Regions from separate parts of the Homo sapiens genome. Here region 1 is linked to region 2. Evidence: promoter capture Hi-C in human tissues and cell types (Jung and others, 2019). All regions are on one chromosome and are shown on one strand. The core of a region is centred on a gene start or on the middle of the fragment in contact, and the rest is flanking DNA. Distances in the headings are between cores, read along the strand shown. Region 1 holds the start of KIF6 (kinesin family member 6). Region 2 holds the start of DAAM2 (dishevelled associated activator of morphogenesis 2).

What was found. Contacts are between HindIII fragments. The study calls those that stand out against the background at their distance.
Region 1: the fragment with the promoter of KIF6 here is called in contact with the fragment with the promoter of DAAM2 in region 2 in 1 of the 25 tissues and cell types used here (adrenal gland).

What each region holds. Positions count from the first base shown.
Region 1 is chr6:39,722,620-39,728,630 of GRCh38, reverse strand. KIF6 (kinesin family member 6) reads left to right here and starts at 3,223. Exons shown (of 23, transcript NM_145027.6): 1 at 3,223-3,386. The coding sequence starts at 3,321. RefSeq lists silencers at 2,983-3,182, 2,889-3,220, 3,433-3,502. The HindIII fragment of the contact is 25,522 bases long and covers 1-6,011 here.
Region 2 is chr6:39,788,914-39,795,262 of GRCh38, reverse strand. DAAM2 (dishevelled associated activator of morphogenesis 2) reads right to left here and starts at 2,887. Exons shown (of 25, transcript NM_001201427.2): 1 at 2,798-2,887. The HindIII fragment of the contact is 10,904 bases long and covers 1-6,349 here.

The sequences.
Region 1 (6,011 bases), core at 1,974-4,473, 67 kb after region 2:
GGTGAATACCTGCACCCAATCTTGAGTCATCTCTTCCTTGCTAGGTGAAAAAGCCCCAAAGTCTATATAATAAATACCTGGTTCTCTCTTCTTCTCAATTCCTGATATTGCAGCACCTGTTCATACTCAATCTTCTTCTTTTTTTTTTCTTTTCTTATTGTGGTACAGTTTATATACAGTATAATTCACTCTTTTAAGTGTATAGATAGTTCTATGAGTTTTAACAAATGCATATACTTATGTTACCACAACCACAATCTAAATATGCAACAGTTCCATCACCCCCCAAAAAACTCTCCCATGTTCATCTGCAGTCAACCCCTTTTCCTACCCTCAGCACCTGGAAACCACTGATCTGTTTTCTATCCTTACAGTTTTTTTTTTTCTCGAATGTCATATATATATACAGATATAAATATAATTATATATGACATATAATATATAACATATATAACATATTATATATGATATATATAATTAGATATATATTATATATAATTCAATTATATATGGAATTATAAAGTACGCAGTGAGTCTGGTATCTTTCACTCATCATAATAAATGTGAGACTTAACCATGTTGTTGTAGGCATCTGTAATTCATTCCTTTTTACGGCATAGATATATCAGTTTGTTTATCTATTTACCAGCTGAAGAACATTTACTTTGTTTCCAGTTTTTGGCAATTGTGAATAAAGCCACTATACACATTCATGTTTAGGTTTCTATGTGAACATAGTTTTCATTTCATTTGGGTTAATAACTAAGAGTGGGATTGTTGTGTCATATGGTAAGTATGTGTATAACTTTATAAGAAATTACAAAACTATTTTACAAAGTGGCTGGTCCATCTTGTTTTCTCATCAGTGATGTTTGAGAGTTCTAGATGCTCTGCATCCATGTCGGCACTTAGTTTTGTCAGTTTTATTTTCTTATTTTTCGCCATTCTAAGAGATGTGTAGTGGTATCTCATTGTGGTTTTAATTTCATTTCATTAATGATTAATGATATTGAGCATATTTTTCATGTGCTTATTTGCCATCCATAGATCCTCTTTGGTGAAGCGTTTGTTCAAATCTTTGCACCCTCCCTTCACCTTAAACAAATGAATTGTTTGTTTTTCTATTATTAGGTTTTAACAGTTTGTATATATTCTGGATGCAAGTCCTTTATCAAGATACGTGTTTTGCAAAAGTTTTCTCCCAATCTGTAGTTAGTCTTTTTGTTTTCTTAAGTGTCTTTCAGCTGGGTGCAGTGGTTCATGGCTGTAATCCCTGCACTTTGGGAGGCTGAGGTGGGTGGATTGCTTGACCTCAGGAGTTCAAGACCAGCCTGGGCAAGATGATGAAATCCTGTCTCTGCAAAAAATACAAAAATTAGCTGAGTGTGATGGCACATGTCTATAAGCCCAGCTACTTGTGGGGCTGAGGCAGGAGAATCGCTTGAGCCCAGGAGGTTGAGGCTGCAGTGAGCCGTGTTCATGCCACTGCACTCCAGCCTGGGGTACAGAGCAAGACCTTGTCTCAAAAAAGAAAGAAAGAAAAAAGGGTGTCTTTAATAAACTTTTTGTTTTGTAAAAAATAATACAGAGAGAACTCGTATACCCATCTCCCAGTTTTCCCCAGTGGTAATGTTTTGCATAACTATAGTACAATATAAAAATCAGGGAATTGACATTGATACAATCCATCAATCTTATTCAATTTTATGTGACTTTTGCCAGTTTTACATGTGCTTATTTGAACATGTGTGTAATTTGTTCTATGCAATGCTATCACATGTGTAGATTTCTGTGATCACCATCACAGTCAAGATACAGAACAGCCCATCACAAGGATTTCTTTTATAACCATACCCTGCACACCTCCCTGGCAATAGTAATAGAACCATACGGTAGTTAGCTTTCGAGTCTGGCTTCTTTCATGAAACATAATTCCCCGAAAATTCAACCAATTTGTTACGTGTATCAACACTTCCTTCCTTCTTAATTGCTGAATGGTATTCCAGTTATTTTAAACTATCAGCTGAAGAACATCTGGGTTTTTTTTCCAGTTTGGGGCTATTACAAATAAAGGTGCTAAAACTATAAACACACATGCGCAGGTTTTTGTGTGAACACACGTTTTCATTCATCTGAGATAAATGCCCAAGAGTGCAATTGCTGTGTCTTAGAGTAGTTGCACCTTTAGTTTTGTAAGAAACTGTCAAACTATTTTCCAGAGTGGCTGTACCTTTATACAGTGTATGTTTTACATTATACATTCCTACCAGTAAAGTGCAACTGATTCAGTTTCTCCACATCTTTGCTAGCATCTGGTGTTGCCACTTTTTTTTTTTTTTTTTTTTTTTAAGCCATTCTGATAGATGAATAGTGATGCCTCATTGTGGTTTTAACTTATATTTCCCACGTGGATAATAATGTTGACTATCTTTTCATGTGCTAACAGTGTTTGAAGAGCTCATCCTTTCTTGCCGTGACCATTGTGTGGGAAACAGTCCCCTTCATCCAGTTTTATCCTTTTCCAAAACAGAGCTAGCCCCACTTCTAATTCCATCATGGCATAGTTTGTATTCCTTGGTTTTGATTTCCTGTTGAAAATCTGTCTCCTTGTCACTTGAGAGACCTTGTGAAGGAAAAAAAAAATCTGTCTCCTTCTTCAGACTGTGATCTCCAAGTGGGCTGGAGCAGTTCTGCAATCTTGGCTCACTACAGCTTCGACCTCCCGGGCTCAAGCGATCCTCCTGCCTCAACCTCCCGAGTAGCTGGGATACAGGCGCGCCACCACGCTTGGCTAACTTTTGTATTTTTTGTAGAGACGGAGTCTCACTATGCTGCCCAGGCTGGTCTCAAATTCCTGGGCTCTAAGCGATCCTACCACCTCGGCTTCCCAAAAACTGCTGGGATTACAAGCATGAGCCACCACGCCCGGCCCAGTGCTGTATTTTTTTTTAAAGGCAAGGGCATGGAGAATAAAATGGGTGAATGAGCGGGGCGGGGCAAGGCATGGTGGTTGTTCCCCTTTAACCACACGGTCCAGGCCGGGTCCGGCGCTAAACCCAGAGCCCAGACACTCGCTCATGCGCATGCGCAGCGCTCTCCTCTCCACCCCCGCCCTCCCCTCCCTAGCCCCGCCCCGTAGTGGCCTCCTTCCGGTCGCGACCAATTAGAGGGAGGAGGCGGGATCCTGGCTGCCAAGGTGCTCACTGGGTAGTGTCCCTAGCTACTGTTGCTAAGACTGTGGGTCGCCGGAGGTGGTGGGAGTTAGTTTTGGCAGCCCGGGCCTGAGAGAGGTCAAGGGTCATTGCAGAGCCAGGGAGGAGATGGTGAAGCAGACTATCCAGATATTCGCGAGGGTGAAGCCCCCTGTCCGGAAGCACCAACAAGGGGTACGGGCTGGAGCCTCCGGGGCGCCGGCGCGGCGGGGCCTCTTGGGCTGGGGTCGGGCGGCGGCACGCGAAGGGGCTGGGCGGAGGTGAGGGGCTTGCTGGTGGGCGCCGAGGCCGCCCGGAATCCCGCACACACTGACCGAGGAGCCCTGCAGCCGCGAAGACCCCCGCGCACTGCTGTCAGCTACGCGACCGACAGCCAGGCCACTCCTACCTGGCACAGCGCAGACCCGGCAGAGAGCCATTTTTTTTGCACCCAGGCACACGTGTTCACGCGGGGGCAGACTAGTGCATGTTCAGTATGCCTGTATAGTGTGCGCTTCAACTACACATAAGCACTTATTGCACCTTTCTGGGAAACTCACGCAGCACCGCACATGCAGATACACTCAAAGGTACATTTTGGCACTCGGGCAAAACGTGCAAGCAAGAGATGCGTGTTTATGTACCTCTGAAATAATACAAATATAGATAGACACAAATGCACAAAGCATACACATATGTAGTACTTTGCACCCAGTGGGGCCTCAGTAATTAGTTGACTGTTGTTATTCTCCAACATAAACGTGAACCTTTACATATACTCCTTGTATTAATAGATATAGGTAGATGCTTAAGCATCCTGACCCAAAGAATACGCATGTGTACTTCATTCAGAAACAATTAACTAAATATTTACCAGGTGCTTCCTCTAGTGTGCTAAATTCAGAAAGGTATAAAGAAGGTTAAGACATTGCCCTGACTCTGAGCAATGATACTTTGTATGCACCTTTTTTTTTTTTTTTTTTTTTTGAGACGGAGTCTCGCTCTGCCACCCAGACTGAAGTGCAGTGGCGCGATCTCGGCTCACTGCAAGCTCTGCCTCTTGGATTCACGCCATTCTCCTGCCTCAACCTCTCAAGTAGCTGGGACTACAGGTGCCCGCCACCACGCCCGGTTAATTTTTTGTGGTTTTAGAAGAGACCGGGTTTCACCCTGTTAGCTAGGATGGTCTCGATCTCCTCCTGATCTTGTGATCCGCCCGCCTCGGCCTCCCAAAGTGCTGGGATTACAGGCGTGAGCCACCGCGCCCAGCACTTTTTATGCTTCTTAAATATTTCAAAACATCCTCTCTTCTGCCTAGAAGGGAGCATAGTCATTCTTATGTATCTTGAGAAATGGCCACCTGACAGGTGCTTTATCTGCATTATCTCTCATTCTCACAAGAACCCTGCAAGGTTGGTGTCATTTTCCGCATTTTACAGATTAGGAAACTGAGTCTCAGGTTAAATAATGTGACCAAGGCACCCAGCTGGGGAGTGGCATAGCTGTAATTTTTTTTTTCAATTTTAGAACATTTATTTTATTCGTTATTATACTTTAAGTCCTGGGGTGCATGTGCAGAACGTACAGGTTTCTCACGTAGGTATACACGTGCCGTGGTGGTTTGCTGCACCCACCAATCTGTCATCTACATTAGGTATTTCTCCTAATGCTATCCCTCCCGTAGCCTCCCACCCCACGACAGGCCCCAGGGTGTGATGTTCCCCTCCCTGTGTGCATGCGTTCTCATTGTTCAGCTCCCACTTATGAGTGAGAACATGTGGTGTTTGGCTTTCTGTTCTTGTTTTAGTTTGCTGAGAATGATGGTTTCCAGCTTCATCCATGTCCCTGCAAACGACATGAACTCATCCTTTTTTATGGCTGCATAGTATTCCATGGTGTATATATATGTACCACATTTTCTTTAACCAGTCTATCACTGATGGGCATTTAGATTGGTTCTATGTCTTTGCTATTGTGAACAGCAGAGCTGTAATTTTAATTAAGGATTTTTGATTTCAAAGCTATCCCCTTTTCGGAAACCTTTTTTGCCTCTCAAAGTGACAATTTAGGCAAGGGCAATTTGGATCATATTTGTGAGTATATGGAGTGGGCATATTAATAATGTTGTATTCCTGTTCCATATATATACTGGGTATATGTCTATGTGGAATATCATAGCATCTCATGATTAAGCATTTGCCTCGTATAATTTATGTATTTAAAACAGGAATAAAGTGGTGTAGAAAGAACCATGGGTATCTTCCCATTTTCTCTCCTCTAATAATCACTTACATGCATTTCTTTTTAGAGTGCATCATATGTAAAAAGTGTATTGTATGTAACATTTCCCCCCAGATTCTTAGCTTAAACTGTTGAGCTTATCTACATGGGCTCAGCAGTCAGAGCAGAGGCTGGGATAAGGTCAAGAGACAGGATGGGTAGGGGTGGGGCTCAGGGAAGTGGATGGAGAGTCTTGGATTTAATACTGAACTTTCTTTTCTCTTAAAATGCAGTGTTTGGATATTTTAATGTACCTCATTTTGTATGTCTTTGGTGAGTCTGTAGAGTGGATTGTTTGATCCTCCAGGAAGTAGTTTTAGGTGTCATATTTTTAGGTGTCACACACACATACACACAAAGAGAATGGGAATGAATAAATATTGAATTAGTATATCCCTGTTCGCCCTTAAAAACTCCACAGTTTAATGCCATATCTTCTTGTCCGCAAAAGATTGTAGAGTTCTTTCTCTGACTAGAAATGCTTTTTGTAGTATTAAATTGAGAGTGACTCAAAGGAATTTTTTTCTTTCTCTTCATTTT
Region 2 (6,349 bases), core at 1,638-4,137:
TGTTCTTTCTGCCAGCTGTGTTTGCCCTCTGGACCTTCAAGGATGTCTTGGAATGCATCCCATCTACTTAATCTAATCTCAAAGATGACCAAAGAGCTGGCCAGAAGATTGAACTGATAGAATGAGCCATGAGAAGGCTTCAATGTCAGCCTAGGCATCCATGGCCTGGGAATTCATCCCGGCCATAGTGAAATGTCTCCTAGTACAAGCCCAGAAGCATCAGGACTCCACTGATCCCACATGCAGCACTCCCAGAAACCCCACATGTAGAAAGAGTTGAAAACCCAGTTCTTGCCCCTCACCTGTCCCTGAGGAGTTGTATGCTGGGATAAGAGTATTTCTGGGAATCCTGTTCCGAGGGGTCCCTTCTGTCCCTGGGTAGTCTTCTATGTTTAAATAATGGAAATGAATGAGAACATTTAAACTTGTTACTTCCATTGGCTCTAGTAAAATCAAATAAGAAAGCCTCATCTTTCATTATCTCTATGCTTTCTCTACTGCCTGTACTTACCCTTTATCTTCATTCTTTACACCTGGATCCAAGGCTCTTTAGTAATGGGGAGTTTAATCTGTTTTGCATCAAAAACTTTGGAGACAGTCGGGAAAGAAGACTGGGGAGAGAACATGTTCTCACAGCAAGCAGTAGTATTTCAACTTCCTCCACGCTCACCAAAAACAAAATCATTTACAGGCCTTCCTATTGGTCTTGCCTGCACAGCCTCCGCCTTCTTGAGCCCCTGACTCTCTAAGTTCTAATGCCCAGGAGAATGTTCTCTCCTCTTTTTGTCCTGATGGGGGCACGAGTATTCCCTCAGCATCCGAGGCGCTGGAGGAAAAGCTCTGAAAACTCAGCTGGGAGTTAGGAGCCAGAGTTTGCAACTACCAGGGAGCAAGACAATAATAGCACAGTTGTTTGCATAAAGGAAGAAATGGGGGTTAGATGGAGTTCCCAGCACAGATGAAGAAATAGACCATTTATCCTCCCATGTCTAAGGCCATGGCCATCACCACACAGTCATGTATGTGTAAAAACACATAGGCATGTGCATCTCATGGGGACCAGTCACTCCTGTTTACATGCACCCTTGTTTACATTGCCTATGGGATGATTTCCTCCTCCTTCATTACACTTCAGTTGACAACGTACTCCTGAAGTTAAATGAGTCTGTTTCTGACATTGCTGCCTGCTCCATCTTTTATGGAGCTTCCCTGGGGTTCAATTTATATAATTTCTAAAATCCTTCCTGAATCTTAACTTCCTGTGGGTCTGTTTTTACATCCAGATTTCCTCCCTGTCCCTTCATTTTCTCATTTTTCTAGGACAGAGGGAGAGTCCAGTAATCTTCCTCCCACCCAGACATTGTAGGTTGGCTCTACTGCAAAATACAAAACCAGAGACCTGGCTAGCTCAAAGCTGAAAATTCAGTCTGTCTGTGGTCACTCGTTTGTGGAACCCAGCTATTGACAGGCAGTGCCTGGCACTGTGCTACTCAGGGATGATGGATCGATACAGCCTCACTGCTGCTTTTTTCCCCTACTCTCCGTGGAGCACACTTTCCGCCCTAGGCCCTAGGGAAAATCCATCCCCCGCTTCAGCTGGCTTTGCAAAGAAACTCAGGAAACTAACACCAAACTCAGAAGGGGGAAAACACAAGACTTTGAACTTTTTAAAGATGGGAAGCTGCTTTCATTCCCACGTGGGCATCAAGGGAAAACCTATGGGGACTCTTTTCCGGAGAGGTGTGATTTTCCTCTAACCCTCCGAGAAACGTTCCAAATCCACTCCAAAACTGTGGAGAAGTGGCCGAGGCAGAGAGAGAAGAGTTAAATCAAGCCCAGATCTCAGCAATCTGTGTTCAATTTTGATAAAAATCTCCCTCTCCCCCACCGCCCCCCTTCCTCCACCCCACAGCTCAGACACGTCTCTTTATGTTAGGAGCTTGCATCTTGTTTGGGGCACCACACGCGGCACTCCTGGAGAACCTGGCACGTACCTCACCGTGGCCATGTGGCAGAACCAACCATCCCACTCCCAAGCTACGGCTGGACACAGGGCCACAGCGTCCTGGCCATCACCACCACCTCCCCCTCTTCCTTCTCATCCTCTTCACAAAATTACCTGCCGCCAGACCAAGTCCCTCATTCCCCGGTTAAGTCAGAGTCCCGACGCCTGGTAAAGTCAGGGCATGAGGTTGGTTTGCGACCGCAGGTGCTGAGAGCCCCAGAGTCCGGGGACCCCTTTCCTGAGATGCTCCTTCCCCCGCCCAGGGTCCCACTGCCACTGAGAACAAGAACCTTACGGCTGCCCTGCCCACTGGCCAGAGGCCAGGCCTGCAAGTGGGAGCTGGGGGCTTGTGAAGACTTCAGCCCAGCCAAGTGAAGGTTCAAGCCGAACCCGGAAAAGCCACCACCAAAAAGTTGTCAGTTTTGCGGGGTATCTTCTGTGTTTGTCCACTTGTGACAACCAGGGGTCAGGTTTCAAAGCCGCAAAAAACATTTTTAAAAAGTTTTCCAAAGACATTTCCTATGTCCAGATGTGCCAGTACAGACACACGCAATCACACTCATACACACACACAACTCACACACACACAGGCCCTGGGAGCCCACTCCGGGGTCGGCGGCTCCTGCAAACACTTTGGAGAAACAAAACCGCCAGCCTGCGGAGCTGCTGCCTCCCCAAGCCCCGCGGGGCATGCTAAAGAAAGCAGAGGGAGAGAAGTGTGGGAGCCCAGCGGAGAGGGCTCCCCGCGGCCCGGGCCCCAAGACGGGGAGCGCCAGGGCCGGCCGCACTTACTCCGAGGACCCCAGGGCGCCCGCGCTCCCGCAGCCCGAGGTACGGCGCCGCCGCCCGCGCTCCGCTCGCTGCTGCGTGCTCCGCGCTATCCCCGGGAAGCCGCGGCTGCCGCCCCTCCAGGCCCGGCCTCGCGCCCGTCCGCCCGCCCCGCTCTGACGTCAGGCGTCTTGGAGCGGGATATTTATGGCAAGGTTACTCTGAATTTTCCCTAGGTAGACTTCTGATTGCAGTTTCTTGGGATTTGTAATTTTCACACTTTCAGACCGAACGCAGGCGGGGGGAGAGCGCCACCGGCAGGGCGAGGCGTACAATGAGGGTAGCTGTTCCCCACTTTGGCAGGGAGCGTTCTCAGGGCCCCTTCTGTTTTGGAAACATGGAAGGGTCAAAGAGGCAAAAGTGGCCACCTGGGCAGCGGGTTTCTCCCCGGCTCCTCCTCTGGGCTACGGGCAAATGGCCTGGTCTGAGGCCGGCTCGGAGGTGAAGGTCCCGGTGCCAAGGAATCCCCTGTCCCTCCCCAAAGTGTCCCTGCACTGGACAGTGTGTCCCAAGGGGTGCTGGGCAAGACAGGAGCGAAATCAGGCACAACAGAACAGCTAATTAGGAGTCCTGGTCCACGCCCTAACAACTTTTCCATTTCTTTTTTGGGAGTGTATATATATTTTTTTAAGTTTATTTTTATTAAATTATGTTCCACACTCCCTGCCTCTGTATAGCTTTTCCAATTCAGTGCCAGTCAATTCATCTTACTTCATTGCTTGTATGCATAGTTTGAGCAGTTTACAATAGCTCTTATTCATACTTTTAAAATTTCCTTTTAGTTTTTTTTTTTCTTTTTTTTTTAAATGTGATTGTGGTCTGTCTCCTTGACTGAACTAGAGATTGCTTTGGTCAAGAGCAATTGTCCTCTCTGGGATTGGCAACACCCTCACGGGGAGTATTTGATCTTCTCTGTTTCCTATTTTCCCCAGCTCCCTCTGCAAGCAAATGGTGCCCCCACTGGGTGATGACCTGTATACAGTTTTCTGGGTGTTCAGTGGTTGTTCTGTGTTAGTGGTTGTCTGTTTCTCCACCTCACCAAAGGGGCTTAGGGAAATGGCTTGGTTTAAGGGCCACCCTTCCAGAGAAAAAAAGAGAATGTAATGCATGATCTTCCAGAGGAAAAAAAAAAAAAAAAGAGAATGTAATGTGTTATCCTTCATGGTTCCCAAGGATTGGAGAATGAAATGAACTTAAAATGATACACGTGAGATGCAAAATACTTATATGGTTAGACAACATAAGTGTTTAGGTATTCATCTCACCATGAATGGGAGGGGGCACGGATAATTGCAAATCATCATTAAAACACAACTATAGTGAACTTTCCATTAGCCCAAACTGGTAGAGGCGGGGTTGTGTTTTAACCACAGTTACAGTGCAGCAGGGACTCAAGGACTTGGAATGTGTTTACCTCTTTGGCAGCAGCTGGTTAGAGCTGATTGCCAGAAGGAGCTGTCTTAGGGCTGGGCCTCTCGGTAGAGGCCACGCTGTTTTGACCCAAGCCACCGAGGGCCCTGCAGCAGGGAGCTGCTGTTTGGTCACTGTGGGATTGCTCTCCCTGGCATAATACCCCACTTTTACCTCCTTCCATTCCCTCTCTCATATCAAGGCTCCACTGGCAAGGTGAGCTCTGTTCTTCAGCAGACCCTGCAAATAGGTTTCCAGAAGCCATTGACAAACCCATTCTCCCTTGCCTTTCTCAACTAAAGAAGTTAGAAATCTACAATATTCACCATCCCAGACTCCCTGGTAGCTCACAATTGCTATGAGACCAAGTTCTGACCAGTGAGATTGTAATACAGAAGACAGAGGATGCCTTCCACAAACTCTCTTTAAGAGAAGATCAGATTTGGCCAGGCGCGGTGGCTCACGCCTGTATTCCCAGCACTTTGGGAGACCGAGGCGGGCGGACCACGAGGTCAGGAGATCGAGACCATCCTGGCTAACACGGTTAAACCCCGTCTCCACTAAAAAATACAAAAAATTAGCCAGGCGTGGTGGTGGGCGCCTGTAGTCCCAGCTACTTCGGAGGCTGAGGCAGGAGAATGGCGTGAACCTAGGAGGCGGAGCTTGCAGTGAGCCGAGATTGCGCCACTGCACTCCAGCCTGGGCGACAGAGCGAGACTCCGTCTCAAAAAAATAAATAAATAAATAAATAAATAAATAAATAAATAAATAAATAAAAACACAAAAAAAGATAGGGCCAGAGACTCAGAGGTGGCAGGTTGGGGACATCATGAGGACAGAAACAGGGGAAGTGAGGCTGAGGAGCAAGCATTCTAGGTCTGGGAGAGGGGAGTCTCTCCATCCTTGCCCAAGTGTTTTGGAGGCAGGGTCTCTCTCTGTCACCTAGGCTGGAGTGCAGTGGCACGATGATAGCTCACTACAGCTTCGAACTCCTGGGCTCAAGGGATTTTCCCACCTCAGCCTTCCCAGTAGCTGGGACTACAGGTGCATGCCACTAGGCCCTGCTAACCTTTTTTTTTTTTTTTTTTTTTTTTTTTTTTGTAGCGATGTGGTCTTGCTATGTTTCCCAAGCTAATCTCAAATTCCTGGTCTCAAGCAATTCTCTCAACTCGAGAGGCCGAAGCGCTGGGATTACAGGTGTGAGCCATTGCGCCTGGCCCCCAAGCATTCTTAATTGGGTTCTATTGGGATGAGGAGCAAGTGAAATTCATAAAATACGTGGCTGTCAGTGCTGAGGAGCTGTTTTTGAGGTTGGCAAGCCCTGAAGAGTCCATGAAGTAGTAGGGCCCACTCGAAGATCATCTGATTCACTCCCTACCCCCAGCCCTATCACTCACAGGGTCCTAATGTGGGAGTCTCTCCTATTCTCAAGATTCCCAAGAAAGGGGTTTCATCCTTCTTCACCTGCATATTCTAGGAATGTTCCCGGAACATACAGTGAGGCCCTCTGTAGCACACTACTCATCTGGAAAATTGTACCTGCTTGATGAAAGATTCTCAAATAGCACATTATGGTTGACCTGGCTTCCAAAGCTCACTATATACTTCCAAGGCCCAGCCTATCATGATAAGAAGCAGGCTTCACAAAAGTCACTTGCTCACTCTCCAGGGGTAGAGATCCTAGTCTAGTACAGCATGGACCACAATAGCACTCCATAAAGACTTTCTGAAGAATAAATGAAGGCCCCATGAATATGTCATCTAATCAATATGTGACTCTCCGCAAATAACATATACCTTTCTCTGATTTACTATTGTGGACTATAGCAAGTGTTTGAACCAAAGACCTTGGTTAAATCCCAGCCCTGCCTCTCACTGCTGTGTGACCTCAGCATGGCAGGAAACTTTCTCAAGCATAGTTTTTGTGATGGTTAACTTCATGTGTCAACTTGGCTGTGCCACAGTGCCCAGATAGTTGATCAAGCATTATTCTGGATACTTCTGTGAAGGTGGTTTTGGATGAGATTAATATTTAAATTGGTGGACTTTGAGTAAAGCTGAGTACCCTCCATAATGTAGGTAGGCCTCATGCAATCAACTGAAATT